Regions from separate parts of the Homo sapiens genome. Here region 2 is linked to region 1. Evidence: promoter capture Hi-C in human tissues and cell types (Jung and others, 2019). All regions are on one chromosome and are shown on one strand. Each heading gives the region's core, a stretch centred on a gene start or on the middle of the fragment in contact. The rest is flanking DNA. Distances are from core to core; before and after follow the strand shown.

Region 1 (7,030 bases), core at 1,814-4,313:
CAGCCTGGCCAACATGGTGAAACCCCGTCTCTACTAAAAAGACAAAAAAATTAGCTGGGTGTGGTGGCACACACCTGTAATCCCAGTTACTCAGAAGGCTGACCATGAGAATCACTTGAACCTGGGTGGCGGATGTTGCAGTGAGCCGAGATTGCGCCACTGTACTCCAGCCTAGGCGACAGAGCAAGACCCTGTCTCAAAAAAAAAAAAAAAAAAAAAAAAAAGAGAGTAACCACTTACTTACTTGTTCGAAATTTTTCCTTGAGGGCATCCAGATCCTCCTTGAGAGCAACCTGCATCCACACCAAGCCAACACAGGCCACAACACAGGCAGCAAGGATGACAAAACCACAGAGCGGATAACAGATCTTGCAGCATCGTAAATAGTCTCCCCTGCTCAAGAGGACAAATTCAACCATGAGTACAAAAGTGATTATGGGTATAGCTTTATTAGCAATAGTACACGTTTTGCCATGCAATTATCTCCTTTAAATGAATAACCAGTGAATTAACCAGGGGAGGCAGGGTAAAGCACTTAAATGAATAAATAATATGACCTATTAAGGGTTCATCTACTGGATACAAAGGTTTCAAATGTCACATAAAACAGAAGGAGTTCCTGCAGGTAAAAGGAAGAACCTAAAGGCACTGCAGCTGTCATTATCAGGAGGGAGGTCTTTGAATACAAGCTCAGGTCACAAAAGTGTAAAGACCAATGTTTCTCTGCAATTCCATCTCTGCACTGGAATTTGCCTATTGATTTCTCTCTGAAATACATACTCACTCCGGGGAACCTTGCTCCAGTTTACTGAAACTTTATAAACTTTTGAGCAAGTTTTACTGCAAAAGAAATGAAAGAAACAGGATCTGTAGTTTTAAGTGGACACCTGGTGTATTCTAGCTTATTGGCTCAGAAGTAAGGAAACATAGAAGGGGCTGGATTTCACACAAAACATCAACCAACCTTCAAGGTCTAAACTAACTTAGTAGGGTTACTACTCCAGGTACCTTCTGATGAAGGTAACACTTCAACTGATCTTCATAACCCAAACCCAGGATTGCCCTTAACAGCCTTAGCTGACAAAGCTCATTAGAAATCAAACTCTTCCTTTAACAAAACAAGACATTTTAAACCAACCAACCACTCAATGTCAGCACCCCGACCTTCTGCCTAGCCATTGTTTCTACATCCTCAGCAGAATCCTCTTTTCTTTTAGTGTGCTCTGAGAGAGTCAAAGGACGTTTTTGAAGTTCCCTTTAGTCCTTTCCCATCCTGAGCCCCAATCCCAATGTCCTCAAATCTTACTACTTGATTTGCCTAGTGGTCTCTCCACCTATGAATGGCTAGGGAAAATGATGCCTCTTCTTTTGCCCCCCGACCCCACCTACTCTCAAGGCTCATACTTCCTACAGTATATCTCTCACCATATTTCCCCACCACCAATATTCAGACTCATCAAGAGTGCAAAAACGAAATAATCTGCAGTCTTAAAGTCTCTGCTTCTCCTTTGTTCTACACTGTTTTAAAAAGTCTAGTCCCCAAAGCTTCTCTGCTCCTCTGTCTCCATTCTTTGCTTCTTTAGGACTCCCTGGGCTCTTGGCACATTCTCCAAGTCCACATTTCCACCTCAGATTTGGAGCTTTTCTTTCTACACCTAAAGACAGATCTCTAACTTATTCTTCATTCAGGATCTGAACTTACCTTCTCCCTAAAACCGTTTTTCCCTCTTTGACTTCCAAGGCCTACACCCTTTTTTCTTCCTAAGGACTTCCTTTCTCCTTCCTGTCAATGTGGCCCCTTGGTAGTGCAAGGAGATGCCTTCTTCCCATTCCACCTTTCACCACTACTCACTTGGCAAAGCGAGAGCGATTTCCAACCACACCGAATTCCTCTTCCTCTTCGGAGCTGGACTCAGAGTCTGAGTCGGGAGGCTCAGTGCGAAGCAGGCGGTGACTGCTTGGGCCTTTCTTGGGCTTCTTTCTCCGGCTGTCCCCAGCCAAACCAATCAATGCATTGAGCTCTTTGCGCTTTTTCATCTTTTTGTGTGGGGTGAGTGGAGCCCCGACTCCTGAGCTGCCAGGTTCGTACCCGATGCCCAATTCTCTTCCTGCCTTGGAGCTGCCTTCCAGGGTTGGGAATCCTGGGCCAGAGCCCCCTGGTCACTCCCACCTAGGGGTGGGACTGACCAGATCCGCCAGGGACTGGAGATTGGAGCCCAGAGGAAACTGGAACTCAGATGGGTGGGGGAAATCACATAGAAATGGCCAAGGAGCTGGTGACCCCAAAGGATAAGGCCTTGGGTGCAGAGTGTTAGTAGAGGGTGGAGAGGGACCTTTATCTCCCAAAGGGCGAAAAAAAAGCCAGGTCAAAAATGAAGGATTCTCAGCCCGGATAAGTAGGCAATACTTCTAAGGGTGCTCCAGGAGGTGAGGAAGGGCACGCTTAAAATACGTGTTTCGGACCTCCGGAGCAAGATTTCCAATGGAGAGGGAAGAGAAACTCGTTCTTGAATGGGAAGAGAGTGGGGAGGTGCAGAGTAAGAAAGTGGGAACGCGTCAGTCCCTTCCTTGCAGGAGAGGTGGCGGCAGGAGGGGGCTCCCAGCAGCTACAATCCCAACACTGCTTGGCCGCAGAGAAAATGCCCTGGCCAGGAAGCCGGCTGGGGTGTGTGATGATCACCGTTCTCCGGCCTCCGTCCTGAACGTGAAGGGGGCCCGAGGCCGAGGAAGATCCGGAGCCCGGCTAGAAGGGTCGGCCTGAGAGAAGCCAGTCCCGCGCCTGATAGACCCCCGCCCCGCTGTCTGGGCCTTGGGGACACGGTGCCGCGGGCGACGGCGGCTCGGCCGACCGAAAGCGCTCCCGCCCGGAGTTTGAGGTCTCCGGCACGGGCAACTCTCGGCCACTCACACGCGCAGGCCCCACTCCAGCCGCGACTCCGGCCCCTGCTCCGGCTTCGGCCGCGGCTGCTCCCGACACGTTGTTGTTGGCGTTGGTGGCGGCGGCTGCGGCGGCGGCGGCCGCGAGCTCCAGCCCCGGGCCATCGCTCCAGCCCCAGATCACTTCCCCTTTGGCAGCGGCCGCCTGCGCCGCCTGCCAGTAAGCCGCACTCCCATTGGTCGCCCGCTGGGGTGACGTCACGCCGGGGCGAAAGTCGTGGCGGAGAGGTGGGGCGTTAAAGGGGCCCTGCCCCGGCTGGGGCTGGGTCCCACCTGCCGATTAGGGTGGCCCCGCCCCCAGGAGGGCTTCCGGGACCTGCTGCGAACCTGAGCCGGGTGGAGTCCTGCATCCTGCGGAGCGCGGGCGGGGCAGGCAAAGCGCCCGGCTGCTCGACCTACTTCGAAAGTTCATCAGCCGCCCACGCCCCCTGGACTAACCAAGTCTGAAGGCTCCGCCTCTCTGACTCTCACACAGGCTGTTAAAAGTTTAGGCGCGTTTCAGATTAATTAACACATTCATTCAGTCAATAAATATTTATTGAGAGCTTACTTACTACGTGTCAGGAGCTGTTCTAGCGCTGGGGATACAGCCATGAACAAAATAACCAGGGTCCTTGTCTTCCTGTATAGTGTTGCCAGATTTAGCAAATAAAAATGTAGGACACCCAGTAAAGTTTGAATTTCAGAGAAACAGCAAACAATTTTTTAGCATTAAGACATCCCATGCAACATCTGGGACATCCTCACACTAAAAAATTATTCATTGTGTATGTGAAATGCAAGTTTAACTGAGCATCGTGTATCTTATCTGCCAATCTATTCCTGCAGTTTATTTATACTCTAGAGGGAGGAGAGCAACAATAGGCAAACATATTAAATGTCAGGAGGTGATAAGTGTTATGATGAAAATTGAAACACGGTCAGGTGATGGGGAGTGCCTCTGTGAAAAGGGAACATTTAGTCAGCTTATCGGAGGAGAGGTGAGGGAATGAGCTGTGCAGTGGCTGCAGGAAGGAGTGACCAGGAAGACCTGTTGTGGCTGGACCAGAAGAGCAAGGAGCAGAGTGATAGGAAATGAGGTCAGAGAAGCATCAGAGGCCAGGGCTTTAGGGCCTTATGGATCACTGAAAGGACTTTGGGAAAGCACTGGGGGCTTTAAGCTGAGAGGTAGCATACTCTGGCTTTTCCGTAAAAAAAAAAAAAAAAAAAAAAATTCACTCTGGGCCAGCGCGATGGCTCACGCCTGTAATCCCAGCATTTTGGGAGGCTGAGGTGGGCGGATCACAAGGTCAGGAGATGGAGACCATCCTGGCCAATATGGTGAAACCTTGTCTCTATTAAAAATACAAAAATTACCTGGGCGTGGTGGTGCGCGCTTGTAATCCCAGCTACTTGGGAGGCTGAGGCAAGAGAATGGCTTGAAACCGGGAGGCGGAGGTTGCAACAAGCCGAGATTGCACCACTGCACTTCAGTCTGGCAACAGAGCGAGACTCCGTCTCAAAAATAAATAAATAAATAAATAAATAAATAAATAAATAAATAAATAAATAAATAAAATAAAATAAAATAAAGGAAAAAATTACTCTGGCTACTTTGTAGAAAAAAGTGGGGGGAGAGTGAGGAACACAGGAGAGCAGTTTGTTACAGTCCAGCTAGAGATGATGCTGATAGATTAGAGAGGCAGTAGCAGAGATGGAGAGCATTCTGGATGTTTCTTGAAGACAGAGCTGACAATTTTTGCTGATAGATTAGATGAAAGGTGTGAAGAGAAGAGAGGGTTTGGCGGTGGAAACACTGGAAGCAAGGAATTGTTATTTATTGAGATGGGGTAGAGCAAGTTTGGGACAAGTTTGACAAGCCAATTCAATATTCAAATGGAGGCTGTTTGGTATACCCATTGAGAGTTCTCTGGGCACAGGTTGGGGCCTGAAATATCAATTGGGAAGTCATCAGATATAAATGGAATTTAAAGCAAAGTGCTTTGAGCTACTTGGAAGAAAGTCACTTAAAGTAATTTTTATGCCCATATTCTTACTGTGGCAATTACGCTGCTTTTGTCCAAGGATTCTCGCAAAGCCTGGGCCTGTATCTGATTTGTTTTTAAGTGTCTAGCCCAGAAGTGTACTCCTAAATAACGATGACCCAATAAATATGTGATGACTACATAAGTGGGCAGTGTTGCAAAGAGGTATGAGTGGACTTTTGGAATCAAAATCAAGAAACCTGGGACTCAATCATGTCTCTACTTCTTCCTGGCTCCATCAGCATGGAAGCCGTTTAGTTTCTCTGAGCTTCAGTTTTCTCCTCTGTAAAATGGGGATAAACACCTATTTCACAGGACAATGAGATGAATGTGAAAGTGTTTTTGAAGCCCCAAGTCATGGTGTATTGTCCCCTTTTGTTTCTAGAGCTTCATTGCCCAATACAGTAGCCAAACTGGCCACATATAACAATTTAAATCTACATTTAACATAATTAAAACAAAATACAAATTTTAAATTGGTTCTTCAGTATCATTGGCCACAGTGTCCAGTAGCCATATGTGGCAAGTGGCTACCAGGCAGCAAGTAATAGTACAATTCCACCACCACAGAAAGTTTTACTGGAGAGTTCTTCACTAATGCTTCCCTGAAGGACTGGGGATAGACAGGTGAGGCTCCTGACTTCAAGAACCATTTCTGAAACACATCCTGTGGTCACCAGAAGCCCCAGGCAGGAGAGGTGGCTGGCCCGAGGGTGGGGTGGCCCTCCTTTGTTGTAGATGATACAGGTTCCCAGGGAACCAGGGACTGAGGAACCCAGGGGAGTGGGGCAGGGCTGAGGACATACCACCCCCGCTGCAGGGACTTCTGGTCAGCCAGAGCCTGTGCTCTCTGTGGGTGGAGATCTCTCCCATGACTGGCCAGTGGGCTGGTCATGGGTGGGGAGGCTGCAGGAGTAGAATTGACAAACAGGGGAATGCTTCTGCTGGATCTGCCTCTCAGTCCTTCTGTCTGCCTGTTTGCTTATGATCTGTAGATAACACCCCTCCTTGTTGGGTAGACATCACACAGGATGCTGTCACCCTTTGAAAGTTACTGGCCAGCTGTTTCTTTTCCTTCAGGAGCTCTTGGATACCTCTCTGGCCTCCTTCCTCAGACCCGGGACCCTCAAGGCCAGGGATTAAGCCACCCCACTCAGAGTGGGGCCTCCTGCTGCCCTCCCACACCAGGACTCCCAAGGTTGTGATCCATCTTCTCCTTTGGGGTTGTTCATATTATGATCCTGGGGAGTCTGTTAACCTACTCAAAACTTGCCTGAAATGCAGTGAGTTTGGGGAAGTCACTTTAGAGTTCTGGCGCTTCAAAGTTTCTGTCTGTGATATGGGGATGATAATATTCCTAGCCCAGTCTTCTGCTTCATGTTGTTTGGGGCAGGGAGTAGCATGGGCGTGCTTTACATGCTGTGAAGTGTCATGCAGAGTGGGTACATGTCTGCTGAATGCTTCTGGCAACTCTATGGGGAAGGTAGGCAAAGATGATTTCCCTGTGCTCAAAATCACAGCCCATATAACTGGCAAAGCCAAATCTTGAGACCCTGTGCTACTTTGGAAGACTCCATAGAGTGCTTTCACTTGGGCAAGCTGAGGCACAGAGTAGGGGCAAACTTGCCAAGGTCATAGTCAAAAATTGGATCCAGCTCTCCTAATTCCTGGGCTGAAAGCTCTTTAAGATCTTGGAGTCCTCTCTTACCTGGGATCTAAGTCTGTGTCTGAACATTGCCACTTGGCAGCTGTGTGATCCTGGACAAAGTACTGAGCCTCTCTGAGCCTCAGTGTCCACTATGATTGCCACCTCAGTGAAATAGAGGCAATCATAGTACCCAGGACTGGCTACATAATTTATGAGGACCAGTGCAAATGCAAATGCAGGGTTCCTTTTCTCTCTCTGCTGTCTCTCTCAACCTGTCTTCCTGTTTATTATTCACTATTTAATGTTGTATTCCCTTAGGCCTGGTGATACAAGGTGAGTGTAGACCCTCACATGAGACAGGCAAGAGGCCTGTTTCATGACTTGGCATGCAAACTCTCTCTTCCTCTCCCTGTGCCGACAC
Region 2 (6,099 bases), core at 1,140-3,639, 460 kb after region 1:
CCACCTTCTAATAACATCACACTGGGGGCTAAGATTTAAACACATGAATTTGAGGGGGACACATACATTCAGTCTATAACACCAGGGCAGTGCCCAAGTGAACAGGTTATGAGTAAAGGACAAGAAGTAAACTCATTCGCCACCAGTCATTTCATCCGTTAGTATGCTGCTCCACCTCTTCTCTTCCGGAACCCTTAGACTCCTGCCCAGAAGTGGTGTCTAACATTACCAAACTCATCCACCCTTGCCAGAATACTTTCCTGCATCACAACGACCTGGTTTACAAATTCAGCCATCAGAGCTTCCATTTTAATAAAGATTGCCAGGTCGCCATGACCACACAGTTTTGTCTTGGGCTTTGCATTGCCTGAGACCTCTATAAAACAACCAACTGCCTAAGACACAAACCCTGGTGATGGGTGCTTTCACTGTGGTGGTTGGACAAAATACGGCATAGAGATAGTCCTCAAGAAATGAATGGTAGCTGAACTTGAGGCAGGGCAAGGCCAGTTCTAGCATCCCGAACACCTGACTTCTAGCCAGGGTTCTATCTGCCCTCACATCTCCCCAAGGATCCATCAATGGCCACTCCACTCAGACCCCCAGCCTGGGCAGACTCCCCTCTATGCACTGGTAATGGGGGAGTTCCTGGTCCAGTATTGATCTTCTCATCAGTTTTCACATTCAGTCCATAACACCAGGGCAGTGCCCAACTGAACAGGTAAAGGACAAAAAGTAAACTTCACATTCATGGGACGATCAATGCTGAACCAGTAACTATATAAGTTCTGCCATCTTGTGGCTGTTCAAGATATTGCAAGCAGGCCGGGCGCGGTGGTTCACATCTGTAATCCCAGCATTTTGGGAGGCCAAGGGGGGGCGGATCACAAGGTCAGGAGTTCCAGACCAGCCTGGCCAACACAGTGAAACCCCATCTCTACTAAAAATACAAAAATTAGCCGGGCATAGTGCCGTGCGCCTGTAATCCCAGCTACTCGGGAAGCTGAGGCAGGAGAATTGCTTGAACCCGGGAGGCGGAGGTTGCGGTGAGCAGAGATCGCACCACTGCACTCCAGCCTGGGTGACAGAGAAAGACTTCATCTCAAAAAAAAAAAAAAAAAAAAGATATTGCAACCAATACAGAGAACAGGAACTGGTATTACATATGGAGAAAGCAATAAACTTTGGGAACAAGTTTTTGGAAAGTGTTCAGCCTCTGTTAGTCCACCATCACCCCCACGCCCCTCCACACACACTGTTTACACTGTGGTGGAATTGATTAAGTGTAGATGGATTCAACCCTTAAGGAAAACAATAGAAAGCATGTACCTTACAAGAGCCTCGGAAATGCTCATATTCTTTGATAGAGTGATTGGATCTTCATCTCCTGAGAGTCGGTCCTATAAAAAATAGTCATTGCTTCAGGACATTGATGTAAGTGGCACAAGGACCAGGGTCAAGCAGGCAAAGACAGAGGCAGAGACTAGAGATCCATGAGGAGTGGCCAGAAACAAGTGCCCTTACCCCCAGCCCAAGCCAGGACAGGAACTGGACTAGAGTAAAAGAGGACCAGGAGCACAGCCAGCCAGGATGCTTGGTAGGGGTTCAGGGAAGGGGGAGGCTGAGCCTATGCTTTCCAGGCAGATGGGAGCCATCTGGGCTCAGCTGAACCATCAGCCAAGCCTGGGCTCACCCAGCCCAGCTGGGTTGCAAACTAAATCTAGACTCTAACCAAATTGCAGACTCTTTCTAGACCCTACCCTACCAAGTAAAGAATGACCTTTGAGAAGAGGTAAAACTATGTTTAAGACCCTCAGCTGGGTGAGGTAACAGGGGTGAACATAGAGTGGACAATGGCTAGTGGGCAATGGGAATGGGCAATGATTGACAGGCAGCTGGCTGTGCACGGCAACCATGGGTCTAAAGCATGCTAGGTCTTATGCTAGGGCTTTACATTGGATGGTCACCACAGATAAAAGGAGATCCTGAGACCCGGGGAGGCTAAGTGATGTAAGCAGCTGAGCTAGTATTGACTAACCCACATTCATTCATTCAGCAAACACTGAGTACTTGTTCAATGCAGGCACTATGCCAGTTTTCGTGGGGACATCCCGTCCTCCAAGAGCTGAGGGTGAGATGTAGTAAAAGATGTCAGGGAGACGCCCCGAAGACGGTGAGGCTAGCAGAAGGAAAAACATGAACAACACGGGCATGGAGATGTGTGGTGAGGGAGGGGAGGGGAGGCAGAAGTTCCAGCAGTAGTGTTGGCAGCACTGGAAAGGGAGAAGGAGGTGGAGTCATCTAGTGGCTGCTCGAGATATTGCAGGCAAGGAAAGGAAAATCACGATGGCTGTCATTCACTGAGCATACTGCATGCTTTCTTTACATCCATTTACTCTTCACCACAACCTCATAAGATGGGCCTCATTTTATCCCTAATTTGCATATTCAGTCCCTGATATACCCTCGTTGGGGTACATCCCACTAATATAAAATTGGCAGGATGGGATTTGCTCAGGGAAATTTGGCTTCAAGCTCATGCACATAGCCACTAGGCTACACCTGCCTTGAGTTTAGATTCCTCTCGCAGATGTGAATGGCTGTATTCCAGCAGGAAAGGTCTCCCTAGCTGCAGTGTAGAGGAAAACTTGGGGGTAAAAATAAAAACAAGGGAGCAGGCAGCTGCAAACATCAGGCAAGATCGAGGCTTGAACCTGGAGGGAGATGTGTTGGAAAGAACCTGGAGGGAGATATGTTGGAAAGTGAAACTCAGGGACTGAGGGAGAGGGGGATTCTGGGTGACTCCCCTATCTCTGGTCTGGGTGAATGGATGCCACTTACAGGAACAGAGGACTCAGGTTGGTGAAAGATCAAGAATTCCATTTTGGACCTGAGGTACCTGTGGAGCTGTGCAGGAGGGAGTGGAGCTGAAGGCGCTGATCTAGAAGTTGATACTTTACTGGAAGCAGTGTAACTGAGTGCAAGGGATAAGGTCTCCATGTCAACACATAGCTCTCGGAGACCTCCTATATTCCAGGACACTTGCACATTGCAATAAAGAGGTGTATGTGGTCTTTGCCTCACAAAGTTCAGAGTTCACAATCTTGTTCAGAGAGATGGGCGGCATGACCAGGGTGAGCCTGCAGGCTCACAGAAGCTTGATGAGCTGAGGGCAGGTGGTCAGGAACAGCTTCCCAGATAAAATGGTGATCATCCTATTATACTGAGAGCGGAAGAATCAGATAGACCATCTTACCTTTCAACAGGGAGCCGGACAATAGTGTTTTTGGTGACAACAGTCTCAGCAGAGTGTTGGGGAGAGCGACAAGGCTATAGGTGCTGAGTAGTGAGTGGGAAGGATGGAGGTGGACACAGCAAATGCCACCACTCCTCTTAGATGCTTGACAGGGTCCCTCCCCACTTTCCCACATGCATGTTTCCAAATGGACTGCATGCTCTGCAAAGGCAAACACTGTTGGCTTCTTTATCTCCCCATTTCACACACACACACACACACACACACACACACACACACACACACACCCCAAAGAGAACCCTATGCTGGGGTAGAATTTGCAATAGATTTAAAGTCAAAAGGCCAGGGTTCAATGCCACTAGCTGGCTATGTGACCTTGGGCAAATCACTTTTCTCTCTCTGAGTCTGCATTTTTTTCCTCTAAAACTTGGGCTCAGTTGTAATCACCTGGTAGGATCATTGTGAGGCTCCAATCAGAAAGTGTCTTACACATCATACAGTAGCCCTCAGATTCAATGTAGAAAACAGCACCAGCAAATGTAAATTAGTACAACCATTGTGGAAGACAGTGTGGTGATTCCTCAAAGACCTAGAACCAGAAATAGCATTTGACCTAGCAATCCCATTGCTGGGTGTGTACCCAAAGGAATAAATCATTATATTATAAAGATACATGTGGCTGGGTGTGGTTGCTCATGCCTGTAATCCCAGCACTTTGGGAAGCTCAGGAGGGTGGATCATCTGAGGATAGGAGTTCGAGACCAGCCTGAACAACATGGTAAAACCCCGTCTCTACTAAAAATACAAAAAAACAAAAAAATTAGCCGGGTGTGGTGGCAGGCACCTGTAGTCCCAGCTACTCGGGAGGCTGAGGCACGAGAATTGCTTGAACCCGGGAGGAGGAGGTTGCAGTGAGCAGAGATTGCACCATTGCACTCCAGCCTGGGTGAGGGAGTAAGACTCCATCTCAAAAAAAATAAAAAAATAATGATACATGCAAGCATATGTTCATTGCAGCACTATTCACAGTAGCAAAGACATGGAATCAACCCAAATGCCCATAAATGATAGACTAGATAAGGAAAATATGGTACATATATACCATGGAATACTATGCAGACATAAAAAGGAATGAGATCATGTACTTTGCAGGGACATGGATGGAGCTGGAGGCCATTATCCTCAGCAAAGTAACACAGGAACAGAAAACCAAACACTGCATACTCTCACTTAAAAGTGGGATCTTTTAAGTGAACAAAAAAGAGGGGAACAACATACAGTGGGGCCTGTTGGGGCAGGGGTGGGGAGAGCATCAGGATAAATAGCTAATGCATGCTGGGCTTAATATCTAGGTGATGGGTTGACAGTTGCAGCAAACCACCATGTTTTTACCTATGTAACAAACCTGTACATCCTGCACATGTAGCCTGGAACTTAAAATAAAATTAAATTAAAATTAAAAAGAAAACAGCACCACCACCATCAAGGAAAGCCTGTTCCCAACCTCCAATTCCAGCTCACTAGCTCAGCCTGTCTCATTCCCCTTTTTCTCTCTCCCCTCTCCTCCCTGCCCCTTTCCTCACTTTGCCCCCACCTGTCCTCACCATCCCACCCCATACCTCCAAGCTCACAGCTAGAACTGACCAAAGGCCCAGTTATTTATTTACAAAGTCCATGTCCAGAACTGTACCAGCCTCAGCGGTGTGGAATAAACTGGTGTGGCCAGGTCCATTGTGCTGATGCCTCAAGAGATCCAGGCTGGTACAGATGGGTCTGGCACATTCTGTACCTGCCAGCCAAGCAGAGCATCCAGCTTACTTCTCACTCGACTCCTTACATAACGCTCGTCGGGTACTCTCCATTCCTTGGGCTTAAATTCCATAGTGTAATATTAGTAAACCAGGCTAAATGATCCTAAGGATCTTGCTAGCTCTGACGCACCGTGATCTTGCATCCAATTCAGTTCACTCTGTAATAAATAATCATAATAACAATAGTAATTTTCCAAATAGCTAACAGTTATTGTGTACTGTATGCTAAGCACTATTCTATGTATTTCATGTGAATGTTTAACATTCATAACACCACTTATCATGTAGACATCATTTACTGCCCTAATTTACAGTGAACTGGAGCTCCGAGAGTCACGTTGATTTAACCACAGTCCCAGGCTACCAAGTGTCCAAGCTGTGCTGCTTCCAAGCTGCCTGACCCAGACCTGAGCTCTTAACCTCTCAATGGGCATCCAGGTCGAAAGCAGAATCTCTGGCTCAAGTGCCGACTGCCCAGCTGTTTCAGAACTCCACCATGCACCCAACTGCTCCTCCAGGACTTCCCTACGGATGTGTTGCAGGCTCTGAAACGTCACACATCCACGCCGCATCCTCATCCCACACATGCTCCTGCTTGTCCCTGGCATCTGCCATTCTCAGTGCCATTCACTAGCCTATATGATGCCTTCGAATCAGAGGAAGTTACCTCTCCCTCCAGGGATACGGGCCCACACCTGGTCTCAGGGACCCTTTAGTGGAGGCACAGTCTATATAGCCCAGAGCAGTGCCCCTGATGCCATCGTCTTCCAATTTGCTCAGAGCAGACACTGGGATTCATCCTTAATATCTCTCTCTTCTCTCTCTCTCTCTCTCTCTCTCTCTCGCGGAGGCCCCACTGCCCTTGCATTCCACAGGAAGTCCCAGTTGCTGGCATGACCTGAGAGGTTCCTGGGACCACGCCATGGAAATGCGTCCGGTCCCAGTGTGACGGGGAAGAGCCGCGCCTGAAGCTCAACTTCCGAGGCTCTCATCAATCTACGCTTCCTTTGGAGCGTGCAGCCACCAGGTGGC

The links. The method cuts DNA at HindIII sites, captures the fragments that hold promoters and counts their contacts. A contact is called where the count stands out against the background at its distance.
Region 2: a contact is called between a fragment that was not itself captured here and the fragment with the promoter of EFCAB14 in region 1, in 1 of the 25 tissues and cell types used here (mesendoderm cells).

The regions. Positions count from the first base shown.
Region 1 is chr1:46,716,051-46,723,080 of GRCh38, forward strand. It overlaps EFCAB14 (EF-hand calcium binding domain 14), which reads right to left and starts at 3,064. Exons shown (of 11, transcript NM_014774.3): 1 at 1,853-3,064; 2 at 245-393. The coding sequence starts at 2,037. RefSeq lists silencers at 2,869-2,918, 3,239-3,288. The HindIII fragment of the contact is 12,522 bases long and covers 317-7,030 here.
Region 2 is chr1:47,173,225-47,179,323 of GRCh38, forward strand. It overlaps CYP4A22-AS1 (CYP4A22 antisense RNA 1), which reads right to left. Exons shown (of 6, transcript NR_199717.1): 1 at 5,966-6,099; 2 at 4,901-5,225; 3 at 3,704-3,845; 4 at 1,330-1,400. LINC00853 (long intergenic non-protein coding RNA 853) reads left to right here and starts at 6,026. Exons shown (of 2, transcript NR_047498.1): 1 at 6,026-6,099. RefSeq lists a silencer at 653-947 and an enhancer at 5,897-6,099. The HindIII fragment of the contact is 5,152 bases long and covers 1-4,965 here.